4 separate regions of the Homo sapiens genome follow, and all the other regions are linked to region 3. The links are contacts of gene promoters, found by promoter capture Hi-C in blood cells and fetal thymus (Javierre and others, 2016). All regions are on one chromosome and are shown on one strand. Each heading gives the region's core, a stretch centred on a gene start or on the middle of the fragment in contact. The rest is flanking DNA. Distances are from core to core; before and after follow the strand shown.

The links. The method cuts DNA at HindIII sites, captures the fragments that hold promoters and counts their contacts. A CHiCAGO score of 5 or more calls a contact.
Region 1: a contact is called between a fragment that was not itself captured here and the fragment with the promoter of MXD1 in region 3, in 10 of 17 cell types (naive CD8 T cells, total CD8 T cells, naive B cells and 7 more). The highest score is 14.6, in naive CD8 T cells.
Region 2: a contact is called between a fragment that was not itself captured here and the fragment with the promoter of MXD1 in region 3, in 3 of 17 cell types (non-activated CD4 T cells, naive CD8 T cells and total B cells). The highest score is 6.9, in non-activated CD4 T cells.
Region 4: a fragment that was not itself captured here is called in contact with the fragment with the promoter of MXD1 in region 3 in 5 of 17 cell types (total B cells, fetal thymus, naive B cells and 2 more); the score reaches 7.7 in total B cells.

The regions. Positions count from the first base shown.
Region 1 is chr2:70,196,551-70,199,250 of GRCh38, forward strand. No RefSeq gene overlaps it. Among named protein-coding and RNA genes, the nearest start is that of C2orf42, 6.9 kb to the left of the region's middle. The HindIII fragment of the contact is 1,775 bases long and covers 502-2,276 here.
Region 2 is chr2:70,277,418-70,280,117 of GRCh38, forward strand. PCYOX1 (prenylcysteine oxidase 1) reads left to right here. Exons shown (of 6, transcript NM_016297.4): 6 at 1-2,700. Among named protein-coding and RNA genes, the nearest start is that of SNRPG, 15 kb to the right of the region's middle. The HindIII fragment of the contact is 6,133 bases long and covers 1-2,700 here.
Region 3 is chr2:69,913,773-69,916,472 of GRCh38, forward strand. MXD1 (MAX dimerization protein 1) reads left to right here and starts at 1,337. Exons shown (of 6, transcript NM_002357.4): 1 at 1,337-1,631; 2 at 2,349-2,448. The coding sequence starts at 1,559. RefSeq lists enhancers at 501-550, 563-1,168, 651-760, 861-1,060 and a silencer at 1,711-1,940. The HindIII fragment of the contact is 7,248 bases long and covers 1-2,700 here.
Region 4 is chr2:70,253,791-70,256,490 of GRCh38, forward strand. It overlaps the pseudogene RPL39P15. Among named protein-coding and RNA genes, the nearest start is that of MIR1285-2, 2.1 kb to the left of the region's middle. The HindIII fragment of the contact is 2,291 bases long and covers 306-2,596 here.

The DNA of each region.
Region 1 (2,700 bases), core at 139-2,638, 280 kb after region 3:
ACCTCCGCCTCCTGGGTTCAAGTGATTCTCCTGCCTCAGCCTCCCAAGTAGCTGGGACTACAGGCATGTACCACCACACACAGCTAATTTTTGTATTTTTAGTAGAGACAGGGTTTCACCATGTTGGCCAGATGATCTTGATCTCTTGACCTTGTGATTCACCCACCGCAGCCTCCCAACGTGCTGGGATTACAGGTGTGAGCCACCACACCTGGCTTCAAATGATTATTTTAATCTGAGGTAATCCTGAGTGACCTCGGTGGAGGACACATTTTTTCAGAGAGGATTTTTGCATATCAAACTATATAAGGGATTCTTACTAATTGATAAAAAAAAACAGTGAAACAATCTAATGAAGAAATAGACAAAGGATATGAACAGATATCTCACAGAAATAAATACAAATGGCCAATTATCATGAAAAATGACTAACTTTACTTGTAATCAGGGAAATACAGCTAAAGAGATTATTTTACATTCATTGGATTGGCAAAAGATAAAAGCTTGATAACAACCAGCATTGGTGAAGGAATGTAAGGGAAATAAGAGCTTTCTGACATAAATGGTTGGAGCGTAAAACGGTATATGACCTTTTTTTTTCTGAGATGAAGTCTCGCTCTGTCAGCCAGGCTGGAGTGCAATGACCTAATCTTGCCTCACTACAACCTCCACCTCCCAGGTTCAAGCAATTCTCCTGACTCAGCCTCCCCAGTAGTTGGGACTACAGGTGTGCGCCACCACGCCTGGCTGATTTTTGTATTTTTAGTAGAGACAGGGTTTCACCATGTTGACCAACCACCATGTTGGTCTCGAACTCCTGACCTCGGGGGAATCCACCTGCCTTGGCCTCCCAAAGTGCTGGGATTATAGATGTGAGCCACCGCTCCCAGCTGGTATACAGCCTTTTTTTTTTTTTTTTTTTTTTTGATATACAGCATTTTAAGAGGGTAATTTGGCACTATACAATACAATTTTTACAATTCACATTTCCTTAACCCATTCAATTTCTAAGTATCCTAGAAAAACAGTATAGACATGCACAAAAACACATGAATTCTCTTTTTTTTTTTTCTTGAGACAGGGTCTTGTTTTGTTGCCCAGGCTGCAGTGCAGAGGCATGATCACAGCTCACTGCAGTCTCAACCTCCTGGACGCAAATGATCCTCCTACATCAGCCTCCTGAGCAGGTGGAACCACAGGCACATGCCACCATGCCTGGCTATTTTTTTTTAATTTTTTGTAGAGATGAGGTCTTGCTATGTTGCCCAGGCTGGTCTTGAACTCCTGGGCTCAAGTGATCTGCCCACCTCAGCCTTCCAAATTGCTGGGATTACAGGCATGAGCCACCGCACCCGGCCTGCCTCTGCCTCCTTGAACACTAATGATCCTGAGTTTTATCCACAGTCCTCATCTCACTTGGTGATCTCTACTCCAAGGGTTGAACTAACACGTAAACACAGACGATTCCCATTTCTATATCCAGCCCAGATCACCCTCCGAAATTCCATGTCATTACCTACTGGATATTTCTACCTGTGTCACCCACGTCCAATCTCACATATCGAAAGATAAGGCCAGGCGAGGTGGCTCACGCTTGTAATCCCAGCACTTTGGGAGGCCAAGGCAGGCGGATCACCTGAGGTCAGGAGTTCAAGACTAGCCTAGCCAACATGGCGAAACCCCGTCTCTACCCAAAATACAAAAATTAACTGGGTGTGGTGGCACATACCTGTAATCCCAGCCACTTGGGAGGCTGAGGCACGAGAATTGCTTGAACCCAGGAGGCGGACGGAGGCTGCAGTGAGCCGAGATCACACACTGCACTCCAGCCTGGGCAACAGAGTGAGACTCTGTCTGAAAAAAAAAAAGGTAAGACTAATTTGCTCTCATCTCCTGCTCTCTCACCATGATAGCTCCTGTCCTTACTCACTCTCACAAACATGCTTCTCTGCCTTCTCACATCCCAGTAACTAAGGATCCACCATGCATCTAACTGCTCATCAAGTCTGCAACCTGGAACACGTCTTGACTAAATACAAATTGGATCAGTGGCTCCCTGGGGTCTTCAGGATAAAAAAAGTTTAAATGACATCACATGGCTTAAAGAACTTGGCCCTGATTTGGTCCTTCAATGCCAGCTTTTTATTAACTTACTCCCAGTACTCCAGCTGGTAGTACTGTCCACACGAGGTGGAAAGCCATTTGGTCAAAACTAGATTGTTTGAAATAACAATTTAATTAACTCATTCATTAATCAATTAATTCAACATTTATTAAGCTTTATTATTTACCATGTACTGGATATTATGGCATTGAAGAAATAGTCACCAGGCCAGGAGCAGTGGCTCATGCCTGTAATCCCAGCACTTTGGGAGGCTGAGGCTGGCAGATCACTTGAGGGCAGGAGTTCGAGACCAGCGTGGCCAACATGGTGAAACCCCGTTTCTACTAAAAATACAAAAATTAGCTAGGCGTGGTGGCATGCACCTGTAATCCCTGCTACTTGGGAGGCTGAGGCAGAAGAATCACTTGAACCCTGGAGGTAGAGGTTTCAGTGAGCCGAGATTGTGCCACTGCACTCCAGCCTGGGAGACAGAGCAAGACTCTGTCTCAAAGAAAAAAAAAAAAAAAAAGGAAATAGTCATCAGTACTTTAGTTTAGTGGGGAGGACAGGTTTTAAATAAATAACTACATGAATAA
Region 2 (2,700 bases), core at 69-2,568, 360 kb after region 3:
TAGTTCCAAATGACTATCAGTGGCAAAAAAGAACAAAATCTGAGCAGAGATGATTTTGAACCAGATATTTTGCCATTATCATTGTTTAATAAAAGTAATCCCTGCTGGTCATAGGAAAACACACGGTTCTAATTAAGTGTGAAGGTATAGCTATTGCACTTATGCCATCTCCAAAATTTCTTAAGTATTCTTTCACTATCCATTAGGAGTTTTTCTTAAACTTGTCTGATAATAAGAATCACCTGGAGTTAGGAGGTGGTGGTTGCAGTGAGCCAATCTCACCATTGCACTTCAGCCTGAGCAACACGAGCAAAACTCCGTCTCAAAAGTAAATAAAAATAATCACCTGGAGTTTGTTAAACCATATGGATTCTCAAGCTCCTCTCTTGAAGATTCTGATTCAGTAGGTCTGGGAGTGGCGCGCTGGATTTTGATCAAAATTGTAGAGCATTTTAAGGTGAGTACCTGAGGGAGAACTTAAAGACATCTTAGTTGGGGAGTAGTCCTTTTGAATTTTACAGCTAGATATAATCTTCAGTCAGATAAAATTTATGGGAGCTGGTGTCTTATGCCTGACTCTTAGTAATTTCATACCGGTTTGAAGTACGTGTGCCCATGCCTAAAGCCTTGACTTTCAGAATGTTGTCTTTTGATTCTTCTGTCTTGATTTGATTAGGGGTGAAATTTAGAAGTCTTAGTAATGTAACTTGAAGATGTTAAACAAAAATCTCAAGTAAAATGAAAAGCAAATATGGGCTACTGAATTAAGAAACTGGCATTCTAGTATTAAATCCTCACTTCAGGAGCTTTTAAAAATACTGAGACCCCCCCATAACCAGAGATTCAGATTCAAAGACTGAGGATAGGACCTTAGCATTGTAGCTATTTAAAGTTTCTAATGTGCACCCAGGGTTGGGAATCACCAATGTGGGTGTGAAAATGCCTACAAAGGGTTTTAGTGCCTTAGAAGTCCTAAGAAGCCCAATCTGTATCAAAGCAGATCCATTTTGCAAGGATCTTTCTTTTAGAACTTTCTCAGTTCTCTTAGTAAGAACTTTAGAAGTAATCTTGATAATAAGCACAGACAGCCTAACAGCAGAGGCAACTTAAATAACTCCTGAGCAGTTGGCACTAGAACAGAATACTTGGAATGACACCAAAGTTAACCAAGTCCAGCATATGTCCAAAGAGTTAAGTGTTTCATTTACTGTAGCATTCTGGGTGAGAAATTGGTTGCTGAAATCTTAAGACAGTGGTCTCAACCTTGGCTGCACATTGGAATCACCTGTAGGGTTTTAAAGCATCCAAATGGTAATTAACAGGCAGCAAAACTTCAGAACTAGTTCTGCATCTACTGTGCAAAGATCATGATTAACTGTCAAGACACTGGTAGAACAGAACAAGCAAAAGATTAAGAGTTCAAAAGTAAATGCAACCAATTTAACATGTAGTGTTATTAAAAAATTACAAAGGCCTAGACCAGCCTGGGCAACATGGTGAAACCCCATCTCTACAAAAAATTTTTAAAAAGTTGGCCAGGCATGGTAATGCGCGCCTGTGGTCCCAGCTGCTCGGGAGGCTGAGGTGGGAGGATCACTTGAGCCTTGGAGGTCAAGGCTGCAGTGAATCATGATCATGCCACTGTACTCCAGCCTGGGCAACAGAGACCATCTTAAAAAAAAAAAATCCTTCCATTGAATAGAAACTTCAAAGTCCTTCATCAGATCATGGCATTAGCTACTTTAGCAAAATAGTGTAAACTTTGGTTCTGAGTAAAAATGACTTCTTCCCTACCACAGTTGTGAATGTTAATATGCTGATAAAACTGCCAAGATATATTTGATAGGTAGGGGATTAAACTCATGGTTTGTCAAAAGAGTGTTTTTTTCTAGTTTTATTCTTAACAGATATGTTGAGGTATTCATATTTGTTTCCTTTTGTGGTTTTAATGAAGACAATTTGTAAAGTAATACTGTTATGTATATGCTAAATGTTGGTAAATACTAATTAATTTCCATCATTTGTAGACTTGTTTTGCAATGGGATATATTTTTACTTATAATACCAATTTAGGCTGGGCGCAGTGGCTCACGCCTGTAATCCCAGCACTTTGGGAGGCCAAGGCAAACGGATCACGAGGTCAGGAGATCAAGACCATCCTGGCCAACATGGTGAAACCCCATCTCTACTGAATACACAAAAATTGGCTGGACATGGTGGCGCATGTCTGTAATCCCAGCTACTGTAATCTCAGCTACTTGGGAGGCTGAGGCAGGAGAATTGCCTCAACCGGGAGGCGGAGGTTGCAGTGAGCCAAGATCGCACCACTGCACTCCAGCCTGGCAACAGAGCGAGACTCTGTCTCAGAAAAAAAAAACAAAAACCAGTTTAGGCTGGGTATGGTGGCTCACCAGCACTTTGGGAGGCTGAGGCAGGTGGATCTCTTGAGGTCGGGAGTTTGAGACCAGCCTGGCCAACATGGTGAAACCCTGTCTTTACTAAAAATACAAAAATTAGCCAGGCATGGTGGCGTGTGCCAGTAATCCCAGCTACTTGGGAGGCTGAGGCGCGAGAATCGCTTGAACCCTGGAGATGGAGGTTGCAGTGAGCAGAGATCGCACCACTGCACTCCAGCCTGGGCAAGAGTGAGACTGTGTCTCAAAAGGAAAAAAAAAAAATTAAAAATGTTGCTGGTATTAC
Region 3 (2,700 bases), core at 87-2,586:
GGTGAAACCCCGTCTCTACTAAAAATACAAAAATTAGCCGGGCGTGGTGGTGGGCACCTGTAATCCCAGCTACTCAGAAGGTTGAGGCAGGAGAATCGCTTGAACCCGGGAGAAGGAGGTTGCAGTGAGCCGAGATCGCGCCATTGCACTCCAGCCTGGGCGACAAGAGCAAAACTCCCTTTCAAAACAAACAAACAAAAACAATAATCTTGTGAGTGTTTTCATCTAGAATTAAAAGGGAGGGGAAAACCCCAAAAGAGATTTAAGCAAAGAATCTTAGGGTTTAATGCCATTCTGTAGGTTCAGGAAGTCTCTGAGCTTTAAAAAGCCGCTCGCGTGAAAGTAATTAATTATTCCATCACTTCCCGGGGGTGGAGGGGGGTGCGGAAAAGGCGCATGAGCTCAATGCTGTATACTGCAGCCCGATTCCAGCTCTTTCTTGAGGGCAGAAAAAACGCCGAGCGGCGAGCATTTAACAACGGCCGGCTTTTCTTCTCAAGCCCCGCAGCAGCCACGTGGCGCCTGCCCTAGCTCCCGGCTCACCGGCCACTAGCCTGCACCGCTCTTCGGGAGGATTCGAGGCTGGGCCCTCGCCAGCCCGAGTTCCGCGAAGCCCAGAACCTCCAGGGCCGCGGCCACCAGACCGAGGGCTCCGGCCCCGAACCCAAGCGGGGCAGAGCGCCCAGGCGACACGAGGTGCCAGCCTTCCATTCGATGGACGCCTGGCAGGTCCCCGGAAGTTTTCCCCGGGGACAGGTCTTGGCAACAGGTCCGAGGCAAGGCCGGGTGGAGCAGAGCTCCGCAGCGGCTGGTGAATCAGCGCCGCCCAGCGCCGGACCGGCCCTCCCAGCCAATGCCAGACCCGGTGAGGAGCAGCCAGGCTGCTGACCATCAGCCACTTAGGGCTCGCCTGGCCTGGAGAAAGGTGACATCATCGTAGCTGGGAGGTTTCCGAAGGCTTCACCAATGGGAGACCGGCGAGGTGCTTGCCTTCTGCAGCTCTTGGCCAATACTAACAAAGCAAAAGGGGGCCCGGGTTGTTGGTATAGAACCAATGGGAAACAAGGAAGGAGCACGAGGCGGAGTTGCGAATCCTGTCACCAGTTGGAAAGAGGGGGTGGAGCCCGGGCCTTGTCAAGTGTGACCAACCAGCGAGAGGAGCGGACTTTGCGGGGTGGAGCCCTGAAGCCCTCTCCCAATCGCACAAGTGTAGGGGCGGGGCATTCTTTGGGGGGCCCAATGAGGAACGCGGCCGAAGCTGGCCTGTCAAGAGAAGGGGCTGGGGGCGGGGAGATGGTGAGTCGGGGATAAACACTCCGCGGCGGTGGCGGCTGCTGCTCTGCTCCGGGTTCTGTCACTGTGTCGGCGGTGCCCAGCTCACTGGCCCCCTCCCTCTCTTGTCGAGCGTGGTTGCCAGAGAGGCTCCCTCAGCCCTGCTCCGCGGGGTCCACAGCGGGCTCCACAGCGGGCTCCATAGCGGGCTCCACAGCGGTCCGGCGGCGGCAGCGAGCCCGTGGGCAGTGGGGGTTGGTCCCGTGGCTCCGGCCCCCGGTGCAGAATGGCGGCGGCGGTTCGGATGAACATCCAGATGCTGCTGGAGGCGGCCGACTATCTGGAGCGGCGGGAGAGAGGTGCACGGGGACGGGGAGGGGTCCACTCGAAACGAGGCCGGGGGTCCTGTGGGGCCGGCCTCAGGTCCGGGCGCCCAGCCGCTCCGGGGGTGGTTGGAGGCGGGGAGACCGCGAGCGCTCCCAACCCCTCTGGCTCTCCCCACGCGCGGTCCGAAGGGAAGCCGCCGCTGCCCCAAAGCAATGAATGGGGTGGAGAAGGGGCTGCCGCCCGCCGGGGTCCCGAACGCCGCCCCTTCCCCAGCCCTTCACGAGTGGGTGGCCGGGGCCCCCTCCGATAGCCTCCCTGGTTTACCTCACCCGGGCTGGTCCCGGCCGGCCCCCAGGTGGGCCCGGCGCCCCAGTCTCCTGGGCAGAGGAGCAGCGCCTCCCGGTCCCCGGCTCACGGTGCTTGCCCCGCACCTTCGCCTGAGCTGGTTCCACTTAACCCGCACCAACCTGCTGGATGTAGCCAGTGGGAAACCCAGGCTGCGTGAGCCTAGCCACTACTGTGTCTTTCTCAACAATGAGCAGCTGGAATCCTCCTTACACCTGCTCCGAATTGACGATATTCACACAATTTTTTTTTAAATCATTGTTCTCAGAATTCCACCTTACTCCATTTAATTATTTCCACAATATTCTTTTAAAGATAAATAAAGGAAAAAGGAAATACTGTAGAGAGGAGAGAGCATTAAATATTCTGGGCCCATTCATTAACTGGATCCTCCTGTTTTCTAGAAGCTGAACATGGTTATGCCTCCATGTTACCATACAATAACAAGGACAGAGATGCCTTAAAACGGAGGAACAAATCCAAAAAGAATAACAGCAGTAGCAGGTAATTTGGTAAATACTTCTTTCTGTCTTTTAGATTATATTGTAGGTGACACAAACTGCTGAATGTAAGTTTTCTGTTGTGATTATAACCCTATAAAATTACATTGTGGCCGTCATGATTCAGTAATGTACACATGGACTTAAGCCATTGCAGGAAGCTGTTTCTGTTTGGGTTGAGGGAACTGAAAAGAAAAATAGAAATGTTTTACATTTCTTTATGAACTTTATTCAAAATTTAATTTCACTTTTCTTC
Region 4 (2,700 bases), core at 201-2,700, 340 kb after region 3:
ATATGGTAACGTGATCGTGACCTTCAGACAGCATAAATATGTGTGCCATCTCATGTACAATTCCTTATAGACCCAGCTTGGTTCTTCTCCAATGTCTCCTTTTGGAGTTGTACCTGATTTTATTTCCAGTTTTCATCCGAATCCACTGGGGAATGGGACGATTTTGCTTTTGTTTCTTGGGCAGGAATCACTTAATCCTGAAAGTCTTGTGAGAAGACATGGTGAGGGTGGAGTCAAGAACACACCACGATGGCAGAGAAAGGAAAAGAGGCATGAGATCATTTTATACCCATCATGCAACCACAAGCTTTTCTCAACTGATAATACTAGGACATTAGTTATAGACCCATTTTTTTTTTTTTTGAGACGGAGTCTCACTCTGTCGCCCAGGTTGGAGTGCAGTGGCGTAATCTTGGCTCACTGCAGCCTCTGCCTCCTGGGTTCAAGCAATTGTCCTGTCTCAGCGTTCCTGAGTAGCTGGGATTACAGGTGTGCGCTACCACGCCTGGCTGATTTTTATATTTTTAGTAGTAGAGACAGGGTTTCACCATGTTGACCAGCCTGGTCTCAAATTCCTGACCTCAGGTGATCTGCCTGCTTCAGCCTCCCAAAGTGCTGGGATTACAGGTGTGAGCCACTGCGCCAAGCTCCAACATTCTTTTTTTGTAATTTTTTTTTTTTTTGAGATCAGCCTGTCAGGTTGGAGTGCAGTGGTGCAATCTCAGCTCACTGCAACCTTGGCCTCCCAAGTTCAAGTGATTCTCCTGCCTCAACCTCCCAAGTAGGTGGGATTACAGGCATGCATCACCACGCCCAGCTAATTTTTGTATTCTTAGTAGAGGCAGAGTTTTGCCACGTTGGCCAGGCTGGTCTTGAACTCCTGACCTCAGATATTCTGCCTGCCTTGGTCTCCCAGAGTGCTGGGATTACAGGCGTGAGCCACCGTGCCTGGCTTCCTTTTAATGCATGCATAATGTTCTATTGTATGGTATGTTGGGGAGAAAAAAAGAGTTTTCCTCTACCCTTCCGAGGTTTTGGTTGTGATAGACCCCTGTAACAAAAGACAGATTAACAAGAAGAAAACAAACAGGACCAGGCATGGTGGCTCATGCCTGTAATCCCAACACTTTGGGAGCCCAGGAGTTCCAGACCAGCCTGGGCAATATGGCAAAAAACCATCTCTACAAAAAATGTAAAAATTAGCTGGGCATGGTAGTGGATGCCTGTGGTCCCAGGTACTCTACTCTGGTGGCTGAGGTGGGTGGATCGCTTGAGCCCAGGAGCGAGAGGTTGCAGTGAGCCGTGATAGTGCCATTGCACTTCAGCCTGGGTGACAGAGCGAAGCCATCTCAAAATAAATAAAAGAAAGAAAGAAAAAAAGAAAAACAGAAATTTAAAAACATGTACGTCACGTATTCAAAAGAGAGACCAGGGAAATGAGCAAATCTCCAAGAGGTAGCTTTGAATTCAGGATTATACAGCATCTTCAAAAAAGAACAGTATATGTTTAGAGAAGTGTTAAGAGAACCGGGCACAGTGACTCACGCCTGTAATTCCAGCACTTTGGGAGGCCGAGGTGGGCGGATCACCTGAGGTCGGGAGTTCGAGACCAGCCTAACCAACACGGAGAAACCCCATCTCTACTAAAAATACAAAATTAGCTGGGTGTGGTGGCGCTTCCCTATAATCCCAGCTACTCAGGAGGCTGAGGCAGGAGAATTGCTTGAACCCGAGAGGCGGACGTTGCCGTGAGACTGCGCCATTGCACTCCAGCCTGGGCAACAAGAGCGAAACTTCGTCTCAAAAAAAAAAAAAAAAAGAAAGAAAGAAAAAAAAAGAGAAGTGTTAAGAGAAGGAAAATGATTTTGAGTCTCTAGGGGTGGCAAATTATGGGAAGGCAAATACGCGATAGAAAAAGGCTCATTAATGAAGTTTGTCATGTAGATTCCTGGCTGATAAAGGTTTGTCAAAAGACAAAATTACAACTAATTTAGTTTAAAGAGCATAATTGGCTTTTAGTTGCGATTGTAGAATTGTGCAACACCTCATTTTATAAAATCGAATGAGTGTTCCTATGAGTTGAGTGGAGGAGGTTGGCTTTCAGAAAGGGCTGAAGAAAGCAGAAACAGAAAAGTGCATTGGTTGTTTCGAGGTTACTTTCCTTGAAAAGTTTAAAGCAGAGGGTATTTCCTTATCATGTCACTTCAAACTGGTCTGTCGGGAATTTGGCTATTATTTTTCTTTCTCCTGATTTCTTAGAAAGTCAGATCGACAACTTAGTTTTGACCTTGTGATGTGGAACATGAGTGACTTGAGTGACTCCATTTTGGTTTAGTCTGTTGGGCCTAGTCTAGTGCAGGAGCTCAGTCCAAACCAATGGCTTCCTATGAATTTTATTTAACAGGCGTAAAATTGTCTTTAGTGATTAACCTTTGTCCTTCCAGGCAGTGTGGGAAGAGGGATACCTTTGCCTTTTAAAATTTATGTCCTGCTTTACTTCAGACATTACACTAAATAGGAGTGTTGAGTATAAAAATGAATTCACAATTAAAGTTGTTAAATTATTTGTATATAACTTTAAAAGGAGTTTTTTTGAAGCTTTGTAATTACATTGAAAGTATATTTGTTTCCTTGAAAACAATTTTTTGAAAAGTGAATAATAATATAATACAGCTTTCAAATTACTTTATGCTGTTACTT